Regions from separate parts of the Homo sapiens genome. Here regions 2 and 3 are each linked to region 1. The links are contacts of gene promoters, found by promoter capture Hi-C in blood cells and fetal thymus (Javierre and others, 2016). All regions are on one chromosome and are shown on one strand. The core of a region is centred on a gene start or on the middle of the fragment in contact, and the rest is flanking DNA. Distances in the headings are between cores, read along the strand shown.

Region 1 (4,405 bases), core at 855-3,354:
GAGCCCAAGCCTTTGCTCACAGCTGCAGCCCTCTGAATTCCTTGGCACCCAATCACTGCTCATCTGTCTTGCCTCCCAGCCTGGAAGCTTCTGCTGGGTAGGGCCCAGCTGGGCCTTTGTCTGTAATCCATATGCTTAATCAAGAGCTGAGCAAAGGAACAAGGCTCTGCATGGTGCCAGATGCCATGCGGGCACAAAGAGATAAAAGGCACAACGCTAGCCCTAGAATCTTACTGGGACCCAGGACTCACACATAGTGCCTGGTGGTAGAACACAAGCTAAGAAAAGCAGAGGAGAGAGAAAGCAGCACAGGCTGGGCTGGGAAGGCAGAATGGGTGGGGAGGGCACCCCAAGAGGGGGCACAGCTCAGCAAAGATGAAAGCACCCCAAAGTCCTTCAGGATACATGCCTCAAACCTTTTCAAGGAGCTTTCACAATCCTTGCTCTACAGAATTTTTGTTCTTTGGCCCAAATGGGTAAAAATTAAGTCTCCTAAACAGAAGTCTTCCCTCTTATCTAACCCTAGATGATGCACCAAAGGCAGTAAGTATATTTTGCACAAAGACAATGAATTACTGTTTTGTCCACTTTCCTTACTCCTCCCAAAGCGGGTGATGAAGGTGGGGAGGGCCAGGAAGGGGCCTGGGGAGGGGAGGAGAATAGAGGGGCAATCAGATATTACACATGCAAATAACTCTCGCTGCTCACTCTCCACACGCACTGGATTCTCCTGCGGGCACCACCAGCCCCACTTGACAGAGGGAGGAAATGAGGCTCAGAGAGTTAAAATGACTTGCTCCAGAGTTACCTAGCCAGAGAGTAAGCAAGTCCACTCCACACAGCAGGGCCTTTCAAAATTAGACTGCTTCCTGCCTGTTTTCTCCTCATAACTCAATACTCTTCCCTCTGACCCTATACCTAGCCAAACTGTTCCTGAATACTCTTCCTTCTTTCCATGATGTCTCTATTCATGTGGTTGTTCCTGCCTAGACAGTCTTTCCCTTGTCTTTTTGTTGAAATTCTTCTCATTCTTCAGGATGCAGTAAATACCACCTCCTTTATCAAATCTTTCTAAATTCCATTATCCAGAGGCATACTTATACTTATTTCCTTTGGCACTTCTTTTTCAGCACTTTGTGGCTATCATTTGCTTTAAAGAAAAACACTACGCAGTAAGTTCCTTTAGTGTTTGGCTTCTAAAATTTTGTATGTGCTAGAAGATGCTCAAAAATGTTGGTTAATTAGAATCATATCTATGTGACAATAATATTACTAGTGATAATAAAAGCTAACTTTTATTGAGTGTTTTCAGGGTGTTGAGTCCTGTGCTAAACACTTTTTATTGATTGTCTCATTTAATCTTCTCGACAACACTGTGAAAAACACACCATTAATATCTCAATTTTACTGATAACAAAACTAAGGTCCTAGAAGGCAAATAACTTGTCCAAGTTTGCATGGTTATTTAGCAGCAGAGCCAGGATTTCAATGTAGAACCATCTGGCTGTCAAGCCTATGTTCTTAGTCATTTTGCTATAATTTCTTTTCTCTGAATTTGCACTTTCTAGTGCCAGCCATAGATGGGATATGAATCTCATGATCTTTGGACGCTTTACCAACTGGCCTTGGCCAAAGTTTCCAAGGTAGAAAACAACAAGTTTTACCTTTTCCAGCTGGGACCACTGATCCAACACATCCTTTGCAAAATTAAAGTTCTGAGAAACTGCTTGGACTAGGCACCTGGAGTCAGGGGGTCTGATGGTCTGAGTAGCACATTTTTGGTTTGGATAGCAGCAGGCTTCAAATCCCAGTCTGAAACTCCGGACCAAGGAGAAGGGTTGAAATCGGCCTAGCATTTGGGTCAGACAGGGAACCACCTAGGTAAATTGAGGAAAAGACAGGGAGTAATTGAGCAGCTCAGAGGGATAATCACTGAGATTGTAGTGCTGAGAATGAATCCATAAGGCAAACAATTTCCTTATGAGTACAAGCAACAGTCAGATCATTGGAGAAGAAGCCCATGAGCACAGATACTTACCAATTCCAAGAGGAGTTTCTATGGGGGGCTTCAGATGTTTGGAGGATGGTAGAGCTGTTGCCTTCTGTCTCCTCTGAGAACTGCTTACCTCTTATAGTTTAGTTGCCGGCTCTGGGGAAAAAGGCATTTCCTTGGTGCCAGCACAAACTAAGTCCTGGCTCACTTTCATTGGCTCTCAAGCCTAAAAGGCAATCTCTTTTGCTTCTGGGAGATAAAATCTATGGGCTGTGAGCTAAGTTGAAGCAACAGGTGTGCCTTGCTTTCTGATATGATGTCAGGAGAAATAGGTCACAGACTACTGTGCCAAGTGTGGTGAAAAGATGATGGACACAGAGTTTAAATAAGATTTTGTTGCTTACAAAATCCTGCACTGCAGAAAGGGAGAAGGGGGTTGCTCATCAGCCAGGTGAGGTAACCACACCCTGCCTCTTTAACCCACTGAGATGACAGGCCTTTTTTTTTTTTTTTTTTTTTTTTTTAAATAAATAGGCACATCGAAGGCCCTCTAGGGATTGCCTCTCGAGGTAGTGTAGGTGAAAGTCTCGTACTCAAGGTAGTGTAGGTGAAAGTCTTGCAACAATCAGGTAGGGAGCCAGATCTCATGATCCTCAGCGGGGGGCGGTGGGAGGGTCCACCTTGGAGCCTCAAATTAGCAAAACTAAAATTTGAAAGGGGGTGTGTATAACATATATTTAAAAGAGGTCACAATATTTGTTTAATAAAATATTGAAGATTTATTGTTTTGATAAGATTTTAACTTTATTTATAACTGTGTGAGGTGTAACTTGGTTACTGGTGGTTGAAGTTCTTCATCACAATTCCTATCCATGTTTCCAGTCGCCAGAGGGAGTAAAATAATGTAAGCTTTGGATGATGGGTTCACTTATTCGCATTCCAGAAATCTGAGATTTAATGGTTTCAATTTGATGATATTAACATTGTAACTATATCTAATATTAGAACTAAAATATTCCAATAAATTATCTAGTCCAAGTACTGCCTAAAACATCACGCTGCCTTTAAGATGAATAAACTCCTTATTGTGGTGCATTGGTTAGATATAAGTTTGGCTGCTTCAACAAAGACACAAAATAGTAAATTTGTTTCTTCAATTGACAGTCTGAGCATATGCAGTGAAAAGCTGTTTGTATTAGTCAGGGTTCTCCAGAAAAACAGAACCAATAGGAAATAGAGAAATAAAGATGAATATAGATACAGATATGTGAGAGGGACTTACTAGGGGAATTAGCTCATGTGATTATGGAGGCTGAGAAGTCCTATGGTGTAAGCTGAAGAACAAGAGAAGTTGGTAGTGTGGCTTAGTCCAAGTTTGAAATCTTTAGAACCAGGGAAGCCAATGGCCTAACTCTCAATTTGAGGCTGAAGGGCTGAGAACCTGAAGTTCTGATATCCAAGGGCAGGAGAATAAGGGTGTTCCAGTTCCAGGAGGGGGAGAGGTAGATAGACACACACACACACACACACACACACGGAAAGAGAGAGAAATTTTCCCTTTCTCAGCTTTTCATTGCATCTAGGCCCTCAGCCAATAAGATGGCGCCTACCACATTGAGGGTGGATCTTTCCCACTCAATCCACCTACTCACACACCAATATCCTTCAGAAGCACCCTCACAGGCACATCAAGAAATGAATACTTTACCAGATATCTAGGTATCTCTGAATCCAGTCAAGTTGACACCTAAAATCATCCATCACACTGGTTTAGTATCTTCACCCTTTCAGGGACCCAGATTCTTTCTGTAACGTTGCTCCACCATCTTTAGGGCATTTCTGAAACAACTTGCCATCACGTCCATATTCCATCCAGTGGGACGGGAGAGTGGTGAGGGGAAGAACATTCCCCTTGCCTAGGTGAATAACTAGAAATTTTTACACATTACCTCTGCTCATATTCCATTGGCGCAGACTTAAGTTATGTGGCTTCAGAAAGAGTCTGGGAACTGTGATCTTTATTCTGAGTGCCTATATGCTCAACTAAGAACTGGAGATTCCATATGCATGAGAGAGATGTGGGCATGAATACTGAGAGACAACTAGCATTTTCCATCACAGTCTATTCATTGACTATCCATGAACACAACATGGAACAGTTTTCCCATTTATAGAATATTCTCCAAGAAGCATAACCTCTAAGTCTCACAGAATTGCTACATCTAACTCAAAATTCAAGATGGAGGGTATTGCTCAGTTCTCTTCAACCAACAGGGATGGGGTCCCTGCCATATGGCAAACTAGAAACTAAAACATAAGTTATCTCTACTCTCCAAACAACCCACTCTTTAGGTCTGAAGTGGGAACCATAAAATTGCATGGAAAACTCCAAGACTGGAAAGAGAAAAATGA
Region 2 (4,405 bases), core at 1,257-3,756, 200 kb before region 1:
AGTGGCATGATCATGGCTTACTGTAGCTTCGAACTCCCAGGCTCAGGAGATCCTCCCAACTTAGCCTCCCAAGAGCTGAAGCAACAGGCATGTGCCTGGCTAATTTTTTAATTTTTTGTAGCGATGGGGTCTCGCTATGTTGCCCAGGCTGGTCTTGAACTCCTAGGTTCAAGCAATCCTCCTGCCTCAGCCTCCTGATATGTTGAGAGGCATGAGCCACGGCACCCAGCCAGCTTAAACCTTTTTGTCCCTAATCCTTTGACCTCTTGAATTACCATCTAGTACATTCCTTCCTCTGTGCTGAACTCCCCACTCACTCCCCCAACTTCCTGCTTACACCTTCAACCCTCTGTGCAATCTGGCACCCACCCCCACTGCCCTCCTGAAGTTGCTCCCTCAGAGTGTTCCTGTGACTTCTCTCTTGCCTAATCTAATGCCGCCTCCTCCTCTGCTTCAATTTCTGGGGTTTTTTTTTTTTTTTCTTTTGAGACATTTAACCACCCACTTCTTGGAGTTCTGTCTTCCCTGGTTCAGTGGCACCTTGTGTACTTTTCTGGTTCATCTCCTGTCCCTCGGATTACTTTGCATCACTTTGGGGATTCTTTTGCCTTGCAGCTATAACTGTGGTGCCCTTCCATGCATGACTTTAGCGCTTTACTCTGGCCTTGCTTCTGTCCACCACTGAGCTCTGCCATCTCCCTGGCGTCAGCCATCACTTTTGGGCTGATGCCTCCAAAGTTGCACTCCTGTTAGGGTGTCTCACCTGGGCCCCTTCATAGTTCCTCTAGGGATCTCTAGGGCATTCCTACTTGAGTATCTTGCTGTCTTCTCAAAGTTACCATAGTCCATATGGAAGCAGCCATTTCTCCCTCCCATTCCTAACCCAATTCTAACTTCTCCATTTGGCTTAGGCCAGGCTTCCAGACTTGAAACCTTGGTACCATCTTTGAAAGAGGCAAGACAGGATGTGGTTCAGAGAGGACTGCTAGAGTCAGGTGGACATTAGGCCACATCACAGCTTGGCTATGAGCTGGTTGTGTGGCCGCAGGCAGGGTACTTTAACTTCTCTGTGTATTGATCCTTTAACTATTAAAAAAAAAAGGTGATAATAGTTTCTTCCTCATAGATCTTTGGGAGGATAAAATGAGAGAACGTAAATGAAGAGTTTATTGCATTGCTTGGCACATAATTAGCTCAGTAGTCCAGAGGCCCCCAAGCATTTATTTAAGCTGTTCCTCTGGAGCACCCTTCGCTTCCTGTGAGTCTGATTGGCTTCTCTTCTGAGAATCGGCCTTTGTCACCCTGCATTCTCATTGCTGGCTCACTTGGTTTTTCTGCCCACTAGACTGTAAGCTCCCTGAAGGCTAAGATTCTGGAATGCTCACCTTCATGTCCACAAGGCAGAGCACAATGTCTGCCCAATAAATAAATGTCATAGCTTGGAAGCCAGATTCTATTAAGTAATTTTATAATCTTAGGTCATATGTGGTATCTTTGTTAGTGCTCTATATCTTCCAGTCTTGAACAAAAATAATCTATAATGTATACTTAGCAATGTACAGCTTCCTGAACACTTTGGCATAAGTTATCCTGATAAGTCCTCTCACCACATTGCTGTGAGCTTGCCAATAGAAGTGTTATCCCTGTTTTTGGATAGGAAAACTGAGGCATGGAAAAGTTAAGTGACTTCCTCAAGAGGAATCGAAAACTTTCAAGTAATGTTAGCCCCATCCTGTGGTTCTACCTGTTCCTTAATTTCTAGAACAGTCAGAACTACTCAGTTGACCAGAGCACGATGTGCATACCTCTGCAAAGCTCTGATCACACTGTTGGCAAGGCTTTTTTTTTTTTTTAAGGACCAGATGATAAATATTTTAGACTTTGCAGGCCATATGGTTTCTGTCACAGCTACTCAACTCGGCCATCGTAGTGCAAAAGCACCCATAAATAATATGTAAAGGAATTGGCATGGTTGTGTTCCAGTAAAATCAGCCCATGGGCCAAAGTTTGCTGACCCCTGCTCTAAACAGAACTAATTCCAGTTGAGAATTAGCAGACACGCTTCCCCCCAGCTAGCCTGTTCAGGAGCGTTTTGTTTTGCAGCTACCAAAAGAGCTTCAGCTAACAATTGCTTTTCATTTCCAGATCCTGTCTCAGAAAGAAGAGTGGGAGAGCAGGACTCAGCACCAACCCAGGAAAAACCCACCTCACCTGGCAAGGCTATTGAAAAAAGAGCAAAGGATGACAGTAGGCGGGTGGTGAAGAGCACTCAGGACTTAAGCGATGTTTCCATGGATGAAGTGGGCATCCCACTCCGGGTATGTATATTGACTTAGAGGTCCTTCTTAGGCTTCATCTTAAGCTGTGACAAGTGTACACTCTGAGTACATGTGAACCCCATCACACCATCGTCTCTGTAAGCCCCATGAGTGCCAGATCCCCCAGAAGCTATGCTCCAGACTTGGTGTACAACAGCTTTTCCCAAAGTGGGTGTTGGATGTTATAAGTCCTATGAATAAAGGGTTTCGTGGTCAAGTAAATGTGAGGAAAAGCTGGGTGGACCAAGTCAGAGAGATTTCTCTGCTGTAGAACTTTTCAGAGGCTTTGAGTATGTGAGTGTTCTAGGGACAATGTTATGGGCAGTCTTCATTATTGTTCTGTGTGGAGCATGTTGAGAAATTCCTGGTCCAGGGTAAGAGAATCCTGGGGAGAGTGTGAGGCCCAAGGTCCCTTTTGACAGGTTCAGGAAGATCTCCCTGGATGGGAGATCACATGTCATCCAAAGTGAGTAGGGAACACTAAGGGAACCTCAGAATGGATTCCGCCAGCCAAGCCTCCAGGACAGAGCAGGTCTCATGGCATCCCTGACCCAGCTCTCCCCGGCAGCACAGGCCTGCCAGTCCTGCAGGCCCTAAGGAATTCCAGGGAACAGGCTCCAATGGGCAAGAAACATTTAACATAAAGCTAGGCAACTTTTGGAACTGGATTTGGGTGAATTCCATTCTTTTCCATGTGTCTACTAGACCATTGCCTGCAATATGTTCCACTGTGATTTCCATTTAACAAATATGTCCCTTTGGAAGAGGCCAATAGAAACCACAGTGGACTAAGCCTCAAAATAACTCTTCTCTGGTTCTAAGTAGTAATATAGAAGGAGAGTTATTCCTAAGAGAAATCACAGCTACCATTTGCTGAGTACATTATCTCATTTAAGCATCACTCATCCAAGTGAGTAATGGATACTAATATCATTTCCATCTTATAGATGAGGAAATGGGGACTCAGGGATTTGTTACTCATCCAAGATTGCACAGCTTGTGGGTGACAGAATGGTCTGTCTGACTCCCAAACCCTTACCCCTAACCGTCACGTTGGATGGCCCTTCCACTCACCTTCTCATCAGCTCTGTGACTTTGGGCAGTTTGCTTTGTCATTCTGTATCTCATTTCCTCTTCTGTAAAGTGGGAGTGAAAATATCTAGCCACCTATCTGTCACCTTCCTTGTTTTATTTTTATCTTAAAAAAAAAGCCCAACCATTCCAACTTTGTGGTTAGGGTGAAAACTCTGGCAGTGGATGCTATAACGAGTTATGTTTTAATGTATGCATTCTAAATCTGGCCCTATGCAAGGTGACTCGGATACATTGCTGTTGAATAATCTAGAATGGTTGGGGGCACAGCATGATAAGCAAATATCCTTTGTCTCTTATATTTCTAGGAGACTTTCCTTCAGTTTGGCACAGTCTATATATGGAGAGATTCTATCTAAAAGTGAAATTTTAAAAATTTAAAAATGGATACCTTTCAAGTGTATCCTCATCCACTGTTTTCAAAATCTGTATCCTTTCAGCCAAATATTACCCTGTAGATTGAGGTTTGGGACTCTTGGTTTTTCTCTTTCTAAAAAGTTTTGCCTTTTTAAAAAAGATAAATGTGGCTGAGTTTTGAATTCAGATATTGTTACTTTCCATTTTGATTTTGAAATCATAGGAGGTCTGAAATGTGTCAAGATAGTCATTTAATTTTGCTCTTTGCCTTTGTTTTTCTACAGAACACTGAGAGATCAAAAGACTGGTACAAGACTATGTTTAAACAGATCCACAAACTGAACAGAGGTACTGATTTTCATTTGTAGAAGCTGTGCTGTGCTATGTGCCAATACACGTTTTGTGGGCCTGAACTCACTTTGCTAGGATGCCAGAAGACTGGGTCCTGCAGTTGGACCTCATTAGGTACTGGTCTGCCTGAGCCCAGCCATGCACCTTCAGAGCACAGGAGGGAGGAAGCACTTGTGTGCCTGCCTCAGAGGTGGAATTTGAGATCTGCTCTCAAATCCTTCCTCCCAGATGTGGAATGCAGCAGGCTGAGCCCAGCACTCTGCCTGTGCTCCAGCATCTGTCTGCCT
Region 3 (4,405 bases), core at 1,099-3,598, 150 kb before region 1:
GACCCAAAGCAATATTTGCCTATTTGCCTCCCCTCAGCATTGTCCTCTGTAGGCCAGTTTAGTTCTCCAAACAGCATCTGTCATCCTGGCCTCCCTTAGGCTTGCTTTGGCTTCTTGCGGCTGGTAAATAGACATGACCCCATTATGTCCTGTGCTCTGTATGTTCAAGCATGCCTGGCTGGGGGACCGGGATCTGCTGGCACATGCCCCTGTTGCATGCCTTAGACCATTGGCTGCCTTCATGAGTCCAGCCCTCCACATCCTGCATTTTATCATGCTACTGTGTTGCCTGTGCATTCTGCTTAGAAACCTTATACCTGAGTCCATATGCATTGGTAGCTATGGTGTGGACAGTTACACAATTCTTCTTTGAAAAGATGGTTAATGAAACTTTACGAAAGTTAGCTTAACAATAATTTATGCCATTTACAAAGGCCTCCAAATTTAGTGACATTAATTTTGAAATATAGAACAGTGCTGCTGCTCACATGTAGGTGGATGAATTGTGTGAAGTGTTCAGCAGTGCTGCAGTAGTGCGCCTCACTAAAGAATTTTGAAGCCCAAAGACTTTTGCAGTTAGGAAAAACCCACAGAGGGTAAGAGAGTTCTCCAAGGGACGTTTCATTTGTTCTTTTAGTTTTGACATTTCCAAGCCTAGATTATGAAAGCTTAATATTATAAGAGGAAAGAGAAGAACAAACTTTGAAGTGATTTTTATCCAGATCTTGGCCTCCTGCACTAAGGTCAACATGTCGAAATTCTCATGCTAGCCAAATGCTGTATCTTGCGTAAGAGTTTATGCTTTGCCATGTAACCCTTAAGTAGCGCTGCTGAAGATGATCTCTTTTAGGGAAAATGGGTAAGTCTGGGATTTAGGGTGGGAGCTAGGGGAATGGGGGAATAACACCCAAAGTATGTACTGTTTTATAACCTTTCAGTACAGTAGATTAATATTTGTTTCTATCTTTTTTATTTTATTTTTTATTTATTTTTCTATCTAGAGTATCATTGCCTATCTTTTTTATTTTAGAAATATGACTGGGCATAGTGGCTTACACCTGTAATCCCAGTACTTTGGGAAGTCAAGGTGGGAGAATTGCTTGAGCCCAGGAGTTCGACACCAGCTTGGGCAACATAGTAAGACCCCCATCTCTAATTAATTAATTAATTAGATAGATTGGTAGATAGCCAGGTGTGGTGGCACATGTCTGTAGTCCAAACTACTGAGGAGGCTGAGGCAGGAGGGTTGCTTGAGTCTGGGAGCTCAAGGCTGCAGTGAGTCATGATCATGCCGCTGCACTCCAGCCTGAGCAACAGAGCAAGACCCTGTCTCAAAAAAAAAAAAAAAAATGTGTCTGGGAAGAAGAGATAGTGAAAAGAGGGAACCAAATTAAAAGAAAGAAAGCTGGCTGGGTTTAGTGGCTCAAGTCTATAATCCCAGCACTATGAGAAGCTGAGCCAGTAGGATCACTTACGGCCAGGAGTTCGAAACTAGCCTTTGCACCATAGGGAGACCTCGTCTTTACAAAAAAATGTATATATATAGAAAAATTAGCCAGGCTTGGTGGCACACGCCTATAGTCATAGCCACTTGGGAGGCTGAGGTGGGAGGATCACTTGACCCCAAAAGTTCAAGACTGCAATGAGCTATGAACACATCACTCCACCATGGATGGCAGAGTGAGATCCTGTCTCAAATTTAAAGAAATTTGAGGCTGTCTCAAATTAAAAGAAAAAGGAAAGCTGGGGAAGAGAAGGAGACTCTAAAATGATGGAGAGAAAGAAAATCTATCAAGGAAGAAGCAAAAGTTAGCGAATGTTAATTGCAAGGGAAAGATAGCCCTTGAGCCCTCAACATTCCAGCTCCTCCTCAAAAAGGCCCTTCTCAGAAGGCTCTGGGCATGGTTTGTCCTCACTGACAGTCCTGCCTGCTTGTAGGTAGAAGAAGATGGGAACAGGTGAAGGCACTACGGCTGCACACTTACACATGTACATGATACATGCAAACAGAAATGCACCGTGGGTGGAATAACCACAGACAGAGGCAGGCAAACTCAGCTCAGTGAGCCTGCCTCCCTTCTAGAGCAATGCTTCTCAAACTCTGACAAGTGCGTTAGCATCCCCTGGAGGGCTTGGTAAAATACAGACCCTGGGTCCTATCTGCAAAGTTTCTGATTCTGCAGTGGGGCCTGAAAATTTACATTTTTAACAATTTCCCAGGTGATATTGATTATACCAGTTTAGGGACCACATTTTGAGAATCACTGCCCTAGAGGTTGACTGTGGACTAGAAAAAGTAGAGACCAACACATCCCAGGTGCACCACACTGTGTCAATGCACTTCAATCCCATTCGGTAGGACTTGGGTGACCACAGGTTCTGTGTAAGACCCTATGGGAGGCAGAAAGAACTCAGTCTGTGCCCTTGGGGAGCTGATAGTGGAAGTCTCCCTCTTATACAGTTATCTCTGTCCTGTAGTAAGTAATACAATACTGTGAAAGCCAGAGGAGGGAAAGATGGATTTAGCCTTGGGAGCTATAGGGAGATAAAGAAGGAGAGGATGTTGCTTTGTATAACCATCGATGACTCACATACACGTCTCAAGAGTTCAATGGAATCAGTGAATTTTAACAGGTCTTTAATGAAAAAAATCTCACCACCCCACATTATTAACCTAAGTCTGCTTACAAAGTAACCATAAACTACACAGCTATATAATTATATTGATTTAATTGATAGGAGATATTGTTTTGACAGAACTCAGTTACCAAAGTGTGAATGCTGTGCTGCTTTGGTATACATTTTTTAAAGTTCACACAGCTCTACAGCTGGGTGACATGAGGTAACCTACTTCCTTGTGTTTTTCTATTGAAATCACTGTGAAATTCGTATCCTTATAATTTTGGTCATTTAGTTTTCTCTTGTGAACTTGTCATTTATCATTAACCCCACATCCATTATTTTCTTGTTCACCTGCAACTGTGAAATTATGCCCTTTGGTTACAGACACAAACACAGGTATTGAAATTGTGTGGCTTTAACTAGATTATAAGGTGATCATTCACTTGGCCCCCGTACGTTTGGTATAGATGGGTAGATAGATGAAAACATCAATGTGAAAATGCAGACTTTAAAAATGCCTGTGGAAGGCTAGGCACAGTGGCTCACACCTGTAATCCCAGCACTTTGGGAGGCCAAGGCAGGAGGACCGCTTGAACCCAGGAATCTGAGACCAGCCTGGGCAACATTGTGGGACCCTATCTGTATAAAAGTTACCCAGGCGTGGTGGTGCATGCCTGTAGTCCCAGCTACTCAGGAGGCTGAGGTGGGAAGATCACCTGAGCCTGGGGAGTCAAGACTGCAGTGAGCCATGATTGTGCCACTGCCCTCCATCCTGGGCAACAGGGCAAGACGCTGTCTCAAAAAAAAGAAAGAAATTCCACAGCCGGGCGTAGTGGTTCACACCTGTAATCCCAGCACTTTGGGAGGCCAAAGTGGGTGGATCACTTGAGGCCAGGAGTTAGAGACCAGCCTGGCCAACATGGTGAAACCCAGTCTCTACCGAGAAATACAAAAATTAGCCTGGCGTGGTGGCACATGCCTGTAGTCCCAGCTACTCGGGAGGCTAAAGCAGGAGAATTGCTTGAACCTGGGAGGCAGAGGTTACAGTGAGCTGAGATCGTGCCACTGCACTCCAGCCTGGGAGACAGAGTAAGACACTGTCTCAAAAAAAAAAAGAAATTCCAGATAGAGGAGAGGGTAGGAGGGGGTTCAGCTGAGGTGTAGCAAATAGATTTGACTGGAACAGGAACAGTGTAGTAGAGATAAAGGCAATTCTGTAAGAGTAGGGAGAAACTACCCAAAGGCCTTCACCTATGGCAGGAATTGAGATTTGAACTGAGGGAAAGTTGAGAGCAGCAGCCAACTTCAAAGCAAGGAAGAGATGTGAGGAAGAATGTTAGGAATGTTATTTGTGCTCCTGGGTGACAGATTAGAGTGAAGAGAATGTGAAATCAAAGGAAGCTTTGTGTCAATGGAAACTAGATGTCAGCTTTGAGCAACAGGGTTGTGGAGGGATGGAGGTGTGGAGGGAGGTCCCTCCTGACTTAATGACACACTTGATCAGGAAGTGGAGAAGGGGCAGAGGCTGACTTGGACCTGGGCATCTGGGAACAGAGGGCTACCCAACAGGATTGGAAGTCTTGGCAGGAGTCATTTGAGCTCAGGGACCACTTTATCTGGCTTTTTGGATGATGTCACAGACCGTAAGAAATATATGGAGTTGGAGATGATGTGAGAAGTGAATCGGCATTTCACCTACTTGCATATCATAATTTAAGCAAGTAGATGTCTCTAAGGAATAAGACAGTAGATAAGGAACATCTTAGGACTTCTGGCTGACTTT

What was found. Contacts are between HindIII fragments. The CHiCAGO score rates a contact against its expected background, and 5 or more counts as called.
Region 2: a fragment that was not itself captured here is called in contact with the fragment with the promoter of ACSM6 in region 1 in 1 of 17 cell types (total B cells); the score reaches 5.3 in total B cells.
Region 3: a fragment that was not itself captured here is called in contact with the fragment with the promoter of ACSM6 in region 1 in 1 of 17 cell types (total B cells); the score reaches 7.0 in total B cells.

What each region holds. Positions count from the first base shown.
Region 1 is chr10:95,191,937-95,196,341 of GRCh38, reverse strand. It overlaps ACSM6 (acyl-CoA synthetase medium chain family member 6), which reads right to left and starts at 2,104. Exons shown (of 11, transcript NM_207321.3): 1 at 2,039-2,104; 2 at 1,665-1,877. The coding sequence starts at 1,856. All of the region lies in intron 3 of LOC107984257 (a long non-coding RNA gene), which reads left to right. The HindIII fragment of the contact is 2,815 bases long and covers 90-2,904 here.
Region 2 is chr10:95,396,930-95,401,334 of GRCh38, reverse strand. It overlaps SORBS1 (sorbin and SH3 domain containing 1), which reads left to right. Exons shown (of 33, transcript NM_001034954.3): 12 at 2,146-2,318; 13 at 4,052-4,115. Among named protein-coding and RNA genes, the nearest start is that of PDLIM1, 110 kb to the right of the region's middle. The HindIII fragment of the contact is 6,773 bases long and covers 1-4,405 here.
Region 3 is chr10:95,346,774-95,351,178 of GRCh38, reverse strand. The region is part of intron 25 of SORBS1 (sorbin and SH3 domain containing 1); the gene reads left to right. Among named protein-coding and RNA genes, the nearest start is that of PDLIM1, 58 kb to the right of the region's middle. RefSeq lists an enhancer at 3,614-4,266. The HindIII fragment of the contact is 3,355 bases long and covers 671-4,025 here.